2 separate regions of the Homo sapiens genome follow, and region 2 is linked to region 1. The links are contacts of gene promoters, found by promoter capture Hi-C in blood cells and fetal thymus (Javierre and others, 2016). All regions are on one chromosome and are shown on one strand. The core of a region is centred on a gene start or on the middle of the fragment in contact, and the rest is flanking DNA. Distances in the headings are between cores, read along the strand shown.

Region 1 (5,896 bases), core at 889-3,388:
ACGTATATTTTTAATTAGTATTAAATATTGACCTTATAGTGAGAAGTAATATTGGTAGGACAGTAATTCCATCACTCATCCTCTAGCTGAAGCTACTACATCTGGGCAGTTCGGTGGATATCGACCTTCTGTAAGAGCCCAGGGATGATGGGTTAAGAGATGCCCAAATGTTCTCTCTCAGATATTTGAGATGGTAAAACGTAGTACTTCTCACTTTCTGGGAACTGTAAAATAAATAGATTGATAGAGAAATCCTCAAGCTAATGAAGCCACTGCATATGAACTCTTTAAATTTTGTAGTTTCCATGGATGAGTATATTTTATGTGCATTACATACACCAGAGAAAACTGGCTGATGAAATTAGCAGTAACAAGTAAGGACTTGAGGATAAATAAGGAAACATAAGTCCTACTCCAAGGTATTTTAATCATCATATAATAATTAAGTACTTAAGCAATTCCTGGGGACCTCTCCCGGTGTATAATAAAAACAGGACCACATCATAACTTCTTCTCCCAAGAGAAAGGTCTCTTGTAACAACTGTATTCTACAGATAATTACTAAATATGATCTTGCCTAATCTCTTTCTTCTAGTATCATAAATAAATGTATCTCCAGTTAAATATCTGGTTTTAACTCATCAAATACTCCTCTATCAGTGTCCAATTCTAAACTGGTTGACTCACCTCTGTTTTAATGAAGTGCTGGCTTCTACATGTATTTTGATCTGCAACTGAGAGCTGTATGTGTTGTAAGTACTATGTGTCTGATGATGGGCTCGCGGTGTGTTTTTCTTTTGAGTCAGGTACTACAGCTAGGCTCATGCAGCCTCATACTGAGTAGGAGATAATTATACCACAAAGTGGTAGCATAAGACAGAGATGTGCATTGGAGGAAAGGGCACATAATGATTCTGAAATTCAGACCTGTGTTTGTAGAAAACGAGGTGAGCTCCGTGTTGATAATTTTGAACACATATTTTATTGTTGTAAGGATATGGGTCATTCATAATGCAAGGGGACCATCATTCCCAACTGGGAAGCTTCTAGTATCACCTAGTCCAAAAGGTCTTAAAGAGGCATTTTACCTATTTGAGGAAGGGTATCCATTATATTTTTAAAGTACATTCTCAAACCAACTGCTTTTAAAAGGGTCTTGCAGTTAAAATGACCACATAATATCCACTACGGGATAAGTGCAAGATTGGTGCAACATTGGGACAACAGACCCAGACAGGGTCTGTCCCAGGCAAATGAAAAAACATGGGCACCTATTTATGGAGGAAAAATGCCCAAGGGTTTCTAGGCGATGAGGGCTGGAGGGTTGATTTGGTAGACTCTTCAAGAAGAGGCTTCCTCTTGCCTTTTCAAGGGGGAAATAAAGATAAACTAGGGACAATGAATTTTAAGGACTTTTCAAGGGTGTGATATCTTTGCTGCTTTCATTTTGATTTTTAAAAATCCCATGTTTCCCTTTATAATTAACAAAATCCATGAATTAAAATGGGTCTTTGTGCTAATCTTTAGGGCAGCAAGAAATGAGGCTCTTGAGAAATAGTACCCCATTTTGCTATCACCTTAGATGTTGGAGAGGGAAAGAGAGGGCGAGAGAGCTGAAAGAAATCCTTCGCAAGAAAACAAAGTAAGTGGACAGAGTAGTTGGCGGGGAACATCTGGGATTATAAACACTGGGGGCAAAGACAAGACCTTGTGAAATGCCTGACATAGTATCTCACGAACCTGATGAATAAAACCATGATATCTGGGTGACCCTGGTGACAACGCTGGGAAAGGTGAGAGGAAACAGAGAGCGCTGTGTTTGAGAGTAATGTTATTGGTTCTTTAGGAACGAGACCGTGGGCTCTTAGTGACGCTGTGGGTTCCTGAGTTGTCTGGGAGTACAGGGACTGCAGCCTCGAGTCTGTCCAGCTACGATCACTTTGGAAGGCCTTCGGTGGGATGCGGGCAGAAAGCTCCCAGTGCAAAGGGCGTGCCACGAAAACCACCAGCCAGAAACCTGAGCTGGGACAGGTGCGCTCCGCCGCCGAAGCTTTCCCCGCGGCCCCTCCCACTCCCGTCCCAGGCCCGCCCACATCCCTGTCCGGGACTTAAGTCCGGCACCGCCGCCCTCTCCCCCGCCCCGCCGCGCTAGAGCCTGGGGTCTCGGCAACTTCCGGCGGCGGGAGCTGCAGAGCGCAAGGCGCGCCCACTGCGCGTGCGCTTCGGCCCGGCTCCTCCTGCGCCCCCGGCCCCTGCGACTGGGACTTGGTACGGCCGGGCGGTTGGCGTCCTCTGCGGCTCCTGCCAGGGGCGGGCTTTTCAAATCTTCCCTTTGAAGGAGTGGCGACGGCCCGGACAGTTCGCGTTGGAGATGGAGGGGCCGAGCCTGAGGGGTCCTGCGCTCCGCCTGGCGGGGCTTCCCACCCAGCAGGTGAGTTGCGGGAGGGACCCTGCCGCGGAAGGTGAGGGAGCCGGGGTTCTGTTCCTCGCGCATTTGCTTTGTGGAGGAGTCGGGAAAGCCTCTCCCCCGCTCCTCTATTTCAGCGGTGGCCAGAAACAAAGGGAGGGATTAGGAGACTGCGCTCTTGGGGCTCTAAAGGGCCTGGACATCGGAACCCCCGAGTTTCTCAGGCAGCTGAGGTCCGGATTGGGAAGGCGGTGCCGGGGTCCAGGCGCGCGTTTGCGGGCGCACCTGTCCGCTGCCCTCCCCAGGCTTTGGACGCCTGTCTTTTTGCAGGTGTAGGTGATGCCGGGGAAATGGGAGCCCCTCGATTCCCAAGAAACCCAGCGAGGCCAGTGGACAGCTGGCTTATTACGGATTTAATGGGAAGCACAGTAATGGAGCGATGTCTACACACAACACAGAACTGGTTGGGGGGAGGGGGTTCGGAGCGGAGTAGAGGCAAACAGCAACCTCTGCACTTTAGAAAAAGTTGAAGGTTTGATACTGGGTTCTTTCTCAAATCATTTGAAAGGAAAGAGGGAGTACACGTGACATTGGATAGAAGTTTGATGTTTGCTTTTGAGCCATGTAAAATGCGTTAGAAACCTTTTTATTTTACTTTTTACTAAACCAACATTATTTCTTGGCAGCATCAGTTATTAAAATGTTACCACTTTTCACTCTTAACCATAACTTTAGGGTCTTAAAAGAAAACTCTGATGTCTTTAAGCTGGACCTTCACTTCTATTTTAATCTCTACCTTCTTTTACCTACTTCAGAAATAGGTTAAGCCATATGAAATTGCCAGTTTTGTAGGTCAAAATTGGTAGAATATTTGCAATTTCATTCATATGGAGGCACCTGATATCTTTGTTTAAAAATCTGGGATTTCCTTAGCAGACACAAAATTATTAGTTTTCAATAATACTGTGAAAAATAAAGCAAGACATTAAGATTCATTATGCAAAAGAAGTCCAGTGTCTTTATCAGTAATACTTATGCTGTTTTATGCCAGCATTTTCAAAAATTTCAAAGATTTTGATGTACTTTTTTTCAGTCCTGTCCTGTTATGTACTTTGGCTGTCCTGATTGCTAACAAAATCTTGATTTATAGTGAATTGCCATTCTATTGATGTTCTTGCACCTATCATATAGGTGTAGGTGTAGCTGTCCAGGTGTATTTATTGAGCTGCAGGCTGCAAGAATAGGAATGGTACAGAAGCGACAAGAGGATAAAATCATGAAGTTTAGTTGCATGGAATGAAAATAAATGTTTAAATATACATAAAGCCTGGGTTATTTACATGTGGGAAGATACAATACTTAATTTCTTAGGCAGGACAAAATCAAAATGATTGAAATGTGGAATTACTTCCTCAGTTTGGATTTGAAGAAAAAACACAAAATAGTAGTAGGTTGCAACCTAACAGGAATATTGAGAGTCAGATAATTTTATACTTGACTAACACTGAATTTTTATTTGGTATTTCCTTTGATACATGAATGAAGCTGCCACGTAATCGAGATAAGGCCAAAGATTTTGAGGTGGTCACACACTGGTCAAACACCTCTGCTGAAACCCTGGAGTCCTCTGCGACTCCTCACAGCATAGAGTATTGGCTTTGGAGTCAGATTCAGGTCAAACCAAACTCTTCTTGTTGTGCAACCTTGAATAAGTTATCTCTGTTTTCTAAGTTTCAGTTTCCACCGTTGTAGCTTGGGTATTCCGCCTATCCCAGACAGCTGTTGGAATTGGAGAACCTCTCTAAAGTACTTATCACAGCACCTAGCACTCAGGATGTGCTTCAGAGATGACTATTGTTGTTATTATCCTTTGTCCTATTCATCTGAGTGGTTAGGGCAGTCCCCTACTTTTCTTACAAATGTTTAAGCTTTTGGCATCTTAATAAAAATAAAATTCAAAAAGTAATACTATCTCATTGCAGAAAAGTCAACATATACAGAAACATGAATTTAAGAATTCGGTCTCCAGTTCCATTCCCCAGAATGGCCGCTGTTAACAATTTCCAGACTTTTTTCTGTACATAAACAATTCTTAAAATCCACACAGTTTCTTTTAGCAAAATGAGAACGTACTGTATTTACTCTTTTCTTCTTCACCTTGGTCTTTGTTAACATGGCTTAACTATATCCATTAGGTGAATCATAGTTTCTGTCTTGATTACTGCGGTTGTCTTACCGGGAGTTCAACTTCAGGTTTTTTTAGTCAGTTTTTAATACCAACAATAAAGCCATTTTCTTTGCACTTCCTTCATGCTAGGCTAGCTCTTAAAACCTAGTAGGTTTCTGTTTCCTACTTAACCTAAATTTCTGTTTTTAAGGTATGCTCCTATTTCATTCATAGCCTTGTCCATATATTTTTATCAGCCTGACTTTAACTACTTATAGCGTCAGGACAGTGACACAGGCTTCTGTTTGACTTGATTAGAGGCAAGCCCTTACTCAGAAAATTGGAAAAGAAATAAGAGTATGATGGCCTTACCTCATTCTCTGCTGTTCCTGGAGACTGGCATTCAAACAATCCTAAAAGGAATGGTTACAGAGAGACCAGCTTTTGTCTTTGGTCCTAATCAGCCTTGACTCTACCTGGCCAAGCCATTATGGCTGAGGGAGCGACACTGATGATTTTCCATTCCCTACTCATCTTCTTTGAGGTTAATAAACATCACTATTGAATGCCCAATCGGTACCCTTATTACATGATCATTATTCTTGCTGGGGATAGCACTAGACATGAACCCTTACCCCTGATGCATTGTATACCCTTAGTAACTAAAGACAACTCTAAAGAGTTTTGGTTCCATAAACCCTTCCTTGCTAGAGCTAGCACTGCTTAACCAGAGAGGCTTTTTCTGCATGTAAAATGTAGATGTGTACTAAAAGAAGTTGCATGGGAAATACAAAACTGGCTAAAACAGTAGCCTTAAGAAAAAAAAAAAAACCAACAGCTCAGAATACATTGAAAACCATATGTACACTTAACAATTCATCCTGCTTATGTTAGCCTTCTGGGATCCACTTAACTGACATTTGCCTGAGACCTGCCTCAGCGAGGGAGGTAAGATTATAGTTTACTGTGTATGTTAATTTGGCTGGATTATGGGTCAGTAAACTATTTCTATAAAGGGGCAAACAGTAAGTATTTTCAGCTTTGCAGGCCACTCAGTCTCTGTTGAAGTTGCTCAACTCTGCCCTTGTAGCTTAAAGGAGCCATAGACAATATGAATGAGTGTGTCTGTGCTCCAGTGTAACTTTATTTACAAAACCAGGTCCCAGCCAGGCCATAGTTTTCTGACCCTTGCTCTAAAGGAAAAAATCTTAATAGTAGTATCTGTTAGATACACCTCATTTCCTTAATAAATAGTACTTTAATCTTACATCATCTTCAAACTTTTTACACGTACATTTTTTTTTTAATCCTGACTTTACATT
Region 2 (5,896 bases), core at 2,077-4,576, 520 kb after region 1:
TTTATTCTCATTCTGCTCAACAATGCTGTGTAAATGCTATGAAATGACTGGGAAGGTAATATTACCACACCAATTCTTTATCTAAAAAATACCAGTTTCCTTGCAGTGTATTTTGTTATAATTGGTATATTTATCTACTTATTGGTGAATAATTTCATTTTGGTTTTAGACACAGAAATACAACATTATAACTAATTTATTCTTTTGTCAGATCGATTTTTCTATTGGTAGATCATAAGACATTTTATTATTTTAACAAGATTTTTTTAAAGTGTTTGCTGTTATATATCTGAACTTCACCATCTTACTAGCATCTGTCAGATTTAATCACCTACAGAACTACCTTATAAAGATTACCTTATCAGAAAAAGTGTCATCTTGTGAGCTTAGGTGTGAGAATTGCAAAATAAAGCTGAGCTACACTAACAACTGCTGTGCTAATTTATTGTAAATTATGGTTTTTTTTTGTTTGCAGAGATAAGACATGAGAAGTGTTTCTATTTAAATTCATTTCCTATTATTCCAACATATACAAAACAGCTTTACAAAAAACAGTGAGAACATAGAATATTCCTTAAATAGGCTCTAGTGACAGTGAAATTTATTTTCTAAGCTATTAGTACCAGTCCTGTCACACCATTCTAGGTGCAGAATCAGACAGAGCCATTAAGACAAAACATGGATGCTTAGAACACAAGATGGAAATTACTGATTGTCGTGTGAAGAGTGATGATTTATATGATATGAACTGGAAATAATTGTGTAGCAAGCTGATATACAACAAAGCTTTAATTCACTGGGTTGACACTGTACACTCATAATCTGCAGACCAAGCACCAGCCATGATAGATTACAGCCATTCAGAATATATAAGCATGTTTTTTTCATAAACATTCTGGGAACCATAGTTCAGATGACCCCAGTAAAAACAACTGCGAAGTTTTTTACCAAGCTGGTTCTCTAAGAAATGTAAAAATCATAATGAGTCATTATATTATTAAAGTTCAGAACTAGGTGGCAATGAATCACATGAAGTTATCACCTTTAAATTACCAAGGAGAGCATAAATTGTGTCCTATAAAGCACCATGATTCTCAGTGCATTTTAAACAAGATGAACCTCTTATATAAACATGATTTTATTAATATATTTATTGTGATTATTATTAAAACTAGAGTAAAATTTAGTGCATATAAAAGTGAAGGGCTAAGGTTGCTGGCCAGAGCCAGAAAGAGCATAGGCCTATATTTTGTAGACTCCTTTGTGTAACTCAGCCAATATATGTTGACCTATTCTGGTTCTTATGAGTACATGACAAACATGGTAATTGGTGTGATCCTTAAAAAAATGCATTAGCAGATAGGCTTTGTGGTAAGAGTCCTTCAAATCCATCTTGGTTTTTAATTCAAACTAAGATTTGAACTCTAGTCTCAGAGAACCAGTTGTAGGTCAACCCAACTGTTACATCTCCTCCTTTTTAAAGAACACTGTGGGTCTTTCAAAGAAAATGGAGTTGAAATACATTTGAGAAAAAAGTGAAAAGCCATCTTGCTGGATATGCTGTGACCCTCTGCCAGTAAGCTTTATGCTGCAGCACATCACACGTTTAAAAGAAGAGTCTCTTGTGTTTTGCGTAAGATTCAGATTTTGGTTCAATTCAACTGATCTGTGTGCGTTCCATGTGCAAAACATGGCATAGGCAGGATTTCTGCCTCAAAAGAGTTACAGTCTGAAGGTGGAGTAAGAAGGCAGGGATACAAATGCCTGCACAATTCATTTGTAACACTACATAAAAACGGCTACAGTTGGGCCATAGGGGTAGAGAACTGTTGGGTGAGTCCCTGATTTTAGCTGACAACAAAACAATGTACCTGTTAGGGATAGGCCAGACAAAGAGAAGAGCAAGGACAGGGAGGCCATAGTGGGGTTTGTAAGTGGACCTTGTCAACCTTGTCAACTAGCCTCATAATAGTTACCCAAAGCCAGAGGAATAAGTGGTATTAAGTGACCTGGAATATAAAAACATGTCAAAATAAACTTGGCTCTGGAAGAATTTGAGCGTAATTGCTAACTTCTGATAAATATTACTTTGATTATAAAGAAGAACAGAAGAAATACTGTTGTTGGTCAGTGGTTATTTTTACTTAAAACATTTATAGTTAGATGGATACAAATAGACCTCTGGTCATAGACTATGAAAAACACATTTGATAGCTAGATATAAAAATCCCAGTATTAATAACTACTGACATTTATGTAGTCCTTTCCTTCCAAAGCTCTTGACAAACATTACTGACTGTATACACAGAGGAATAGCACTGAAATGCTGCTATCCTTTCAAAAGACTAGACATTAATTCAAGGAAAAAGTAGCAAATGGAAATATAGGGCTGCAGAATATAGCGCACATTTGGAAACGAACTCATACATTTCACCTTGCTTGCAAAGTGTTTGCCATATTTTATTTTAATTTTATTGAATTGCTGGTGTTATTTAACTTAATTCTCTTACTTAGACCTCTATGGTGTTTGCCATTTTTCTTAGGTAGCGCCTAAGCTGATTTATGATACAGTAGGGCAATAAGTACCAGGGCTGATGTTCTCTCCTTTTGAGGACAATAGGTCTGACTCTCTAGCACCTCCTAGTGTGAGGAGGGCTGATATGCCAGCCAACATAGGTGTGCCATGTACTGGAAGACTAGTTTTATTTCATCACAAACTGAGATTGTATGTGGTTATTTGAGAACTACCACCTGGCTCAAACAAGTTTAATGATATATTAGGTCAAATGGGTTGCTGCTGAGCTGCTTGATGACCCTGATTAAAATGATGCTATGTTTGTTCATTTGCTTAAACAAAGTGTAAATTACAGGGTAGTAATCATTTTTAAAAGCCAGGAAACACAAAATGTTTAATGTACACGTTTAGAGCCCTCACTATAAAATATGAACAATTTCACTGCATTCTCAAAATATGACTGCAATGATAGAAATATAAATTAAGGTTATTTACATTTCCTGTAATAATGTTATACTTTGGAAATTTCAATTCAATTCAGGATTTATTTCCAATCACTTGTTTTAGATTTTAACATTCCTCCTGCCCTCTTCTATAAATCCTGTGTATCGTCAAAAGTTAAGTTAAACTCTTAGCAATTACTTAAAGCTTTCATATTTTTTCAGAAAACAAGGAACTTTATATTTTATAAACTCTCATTTATATTATCATTTTCACCTTCACTGAACATGCACTCCAAGCCAAGTACGGTACTAGGTCATGGAGATTCAGAGACAAACAACACAAAGGCTCTGACTTTTGAGGAGGTCTCAGTCTATTGTGTGGGTGGTGGGGGCACTTGGTAGGAATAACATAATTTGAAGAATGAAACAATTATTAGAAGTATATGTAGAGTGTTCTAGAAATATAGAAGAAGGATTGCCAATTGATTTTTGGTGGGAGGGAAGAGAAGAAGGGATTCAGAGAAAGCTTAAAAAGAGAGATGGTGCTTGAGTTGAATCTCAAAGGAGAAATAGGAGTTAGCATGCAGATGGGGTTGGATAGGGAGGGAAAATACCAGATAGACAGACAGACAGAGGAAGTGGCATATACAAATGAACAGATACATACGGAGAACATTCTAGAACAAAAGATGTGTGTGACACTGGTGAAAAGCTAGGGTCAAACAGGCCTGGGTTCAGCCCCAGCTTTGGTATTTTGTAACTACAAGACCTCTGGGAAAATCATCTAATCTCCTACAAGCCTTGGGTTTTCCATCCATTAAATGGGACAAATGACCGGCTGATTGATAGTAAACCAATTGGTAGAGTCAATTTTCTTAGAAACATATATAAAAATGCAAAAAATTAGAAAAATGGAAAGGGAAATTAAAGTGAAATTTAGTCGAGTGCTAATGTTTTAAATATTGAAATGTAAATGTTTTAAATTTAAAATGTGATTTACAATCTTTCACAGAGTAAGTCATGTCTAGAAGTAAGTATATGTTTGTCTTTTGCTATGGCTACATTGAAAGATGGAGAAAAATATAAAAAAGAAATCAAGGGATTTATTTTCCATATGTCCAAGTAATATCCAGCAACTTAAAAAACAAGTTTAGCAAAAGTTAGGACAATATATTTCCCTTCATTTGTTGAGAGGAAGCCTGCTTGATTAATGTAATTAAAGGGTTGCTTGTAACTCAAGACTCAATGAAAAAAATAAATTTGGCCTTATTACTTTACTTGCAACTGGTGGTTTTCCTAGTGTGATTTTTGAGCTAAAATCTGCGGCTGCTTTGTTCATGACACATGAATTGTTTTAGCACATCCTTTCCCCTGCTGTGCATATGATTAAGAAAGCAGAGGTTAAATAGTGCAGTAAAGAATTGGGTAAATTCATTCTATTTTTGCTCACAGTGCCTTTTAGTCCCCCTCCTTTTCAGGACTAGAAGAGTACAGAAACCTATTATCTTCTCCTGAAATTATTTAAGATATGTTCTTATGCTGAAAAAAATAACTTCTCTCTCAACATTTTCTAGTACACTGATTTTGTGATGTCTGTGCTATAGATATTGTCTGTATTGGCAGGAAAACCAAATGCAAGTACATCCTACCATTTATTGAGTGCTAATGTATGCTGGGCACTGTAATAAGCATTTTGCACACATTGTTTTATTTTTACTTTGTGATAATCCTATAAGACAGGGATAATCATTCTCATTTTTAGACGAGGAACAAGAAGCTCTGAGAGGTGATGTTACTGTTCCAAGGCCCCACAATTAGCAGGTGACAGAACTAAGGTGCTAAGTCTGGTCTATCTCATTCCAAATCTGGGCTCTTATCCACTTGCCTTTTTTTTTCTTTGTAGTTTGAGTTTGAGTCAAAGGATTTGAATCTAGTTTCTGGTGGAGCATCTTGCATATAGTTCGTGCAACACATGTTAAATTCAATTGAATAGAAATCTTATGTCATGAGAGTAAAAAGCAGTCAGTTCTTGCCCTCTTTGAGTTTATAGTCTAATGTGGGTGGCACTATAAAGTACAATACAATAGGCAGCATGGAGAAAACATGACAAGCTTAATGTCCCCGGCAAAGAAGCTTTTTTTCTTCACTCAGCCCTGTCTCCCCCCGAGTCTTGCAGCTACTCAAACTGAATCCTGGAAGGCATTCTTAATTCCTCCCTTTCGCTCACTCTTTGCACCCAATTTTTCAGCAAGTCCTGTCATATATATTCTGAAATAAAACTGAAATCGACTTCTCTCTACCTTCCACGCCACTATCCTGTTCCATGTGACTCAGACCACAGCCATTACCTTCTACCTGGTCTCCCTGCTTCCCCACATTTGGTAAGAACCATGTACAAACAGCAGCCAGAGAAGATTTTGTGAAGCCTGAAGCTAAATCAGTACATAAAATTAGGTACAGAAGTGAATCCATAGAATTCACAAATGTGGGTATACAGAATAATAAAAGAACAACAAATTACTTTTATTAAAAAGCTGACAAATTCCAAAAATAGCACAAAATTAAAAATTAAATTTAAAAATTAAGTGCTTAACCTATCTCAACAATACACTTAACCCTACTTTTTTGGGCTTCATATTCTAATCAGCCCTTCAGGTACAACAACATTAGAATATTATTTTCCGTAGAAAAAATAGAAAAATTAGTCAGTCTTTTTTCTAGCTTGGTTAACGGATATGTTTTTAAATTATTAATAGTTTAGGAAAGCTTCAGCCTCACAACTTATTATTGGTAACATCATATAGATTTTAGCATTAATGTCCAATTTCAGAAAACATTTAGCAAGTTTTCTTCATACATTAGCTAAAAGATTTAAGCTTCTTTTCAGGTTATTTTATGCAGGAAACAATTTAAAATACTCTTTACTCCTTAAATAGGT

The links. Contacts are between HindIII fragments. The CHiCAGO score rates a contact against its expected background, and 5 or more counts as called.
Region 2: a contact is called between a fragment that was not itself captured here and the fragment with the promoter of RTKN2 in region 1, in 1 of 17 cell types (activated CD4 T cells). The highest score is 5.6, in activated CD4 T cells.

The regions. Positions count from the first base shown.
Region 1 is chr10:62,265,086-62,270,981 of GRCh38, reverse strand. RTKN2 (rhotekin 2) reads left to right here and starts at 2,138. Exons shown (of 12, transcript NM_145307.4): 1 at 2,138-2,431. The coding sequence starts at 2,372. The region is part of intron 1 of LINC02621 (long intergenic non-protein coding RNA 2621); the gene reads right to left. RefSeq lists a silencer at 2,057-2,386 and an enhancer at 5,857-5,896. The HindIII fragment of the contact is 2,285 bases long and covers 2,053-4,337 here.
Region 2 is chr10:61,741,426-61,747,321 of GRCh38, reverse strand. All of the region lies in intron 5 of CABCOCO1 (ciliary associated calcium binding coiled-coil 1), which reads right to left. Among named protein-coding and RNA genes, the nearest start is that of CABCOCO1, 81 kb to the right of the region's middle. The HindIII fragment of the contact is 321 bases long and covers 3,166-3,486 here.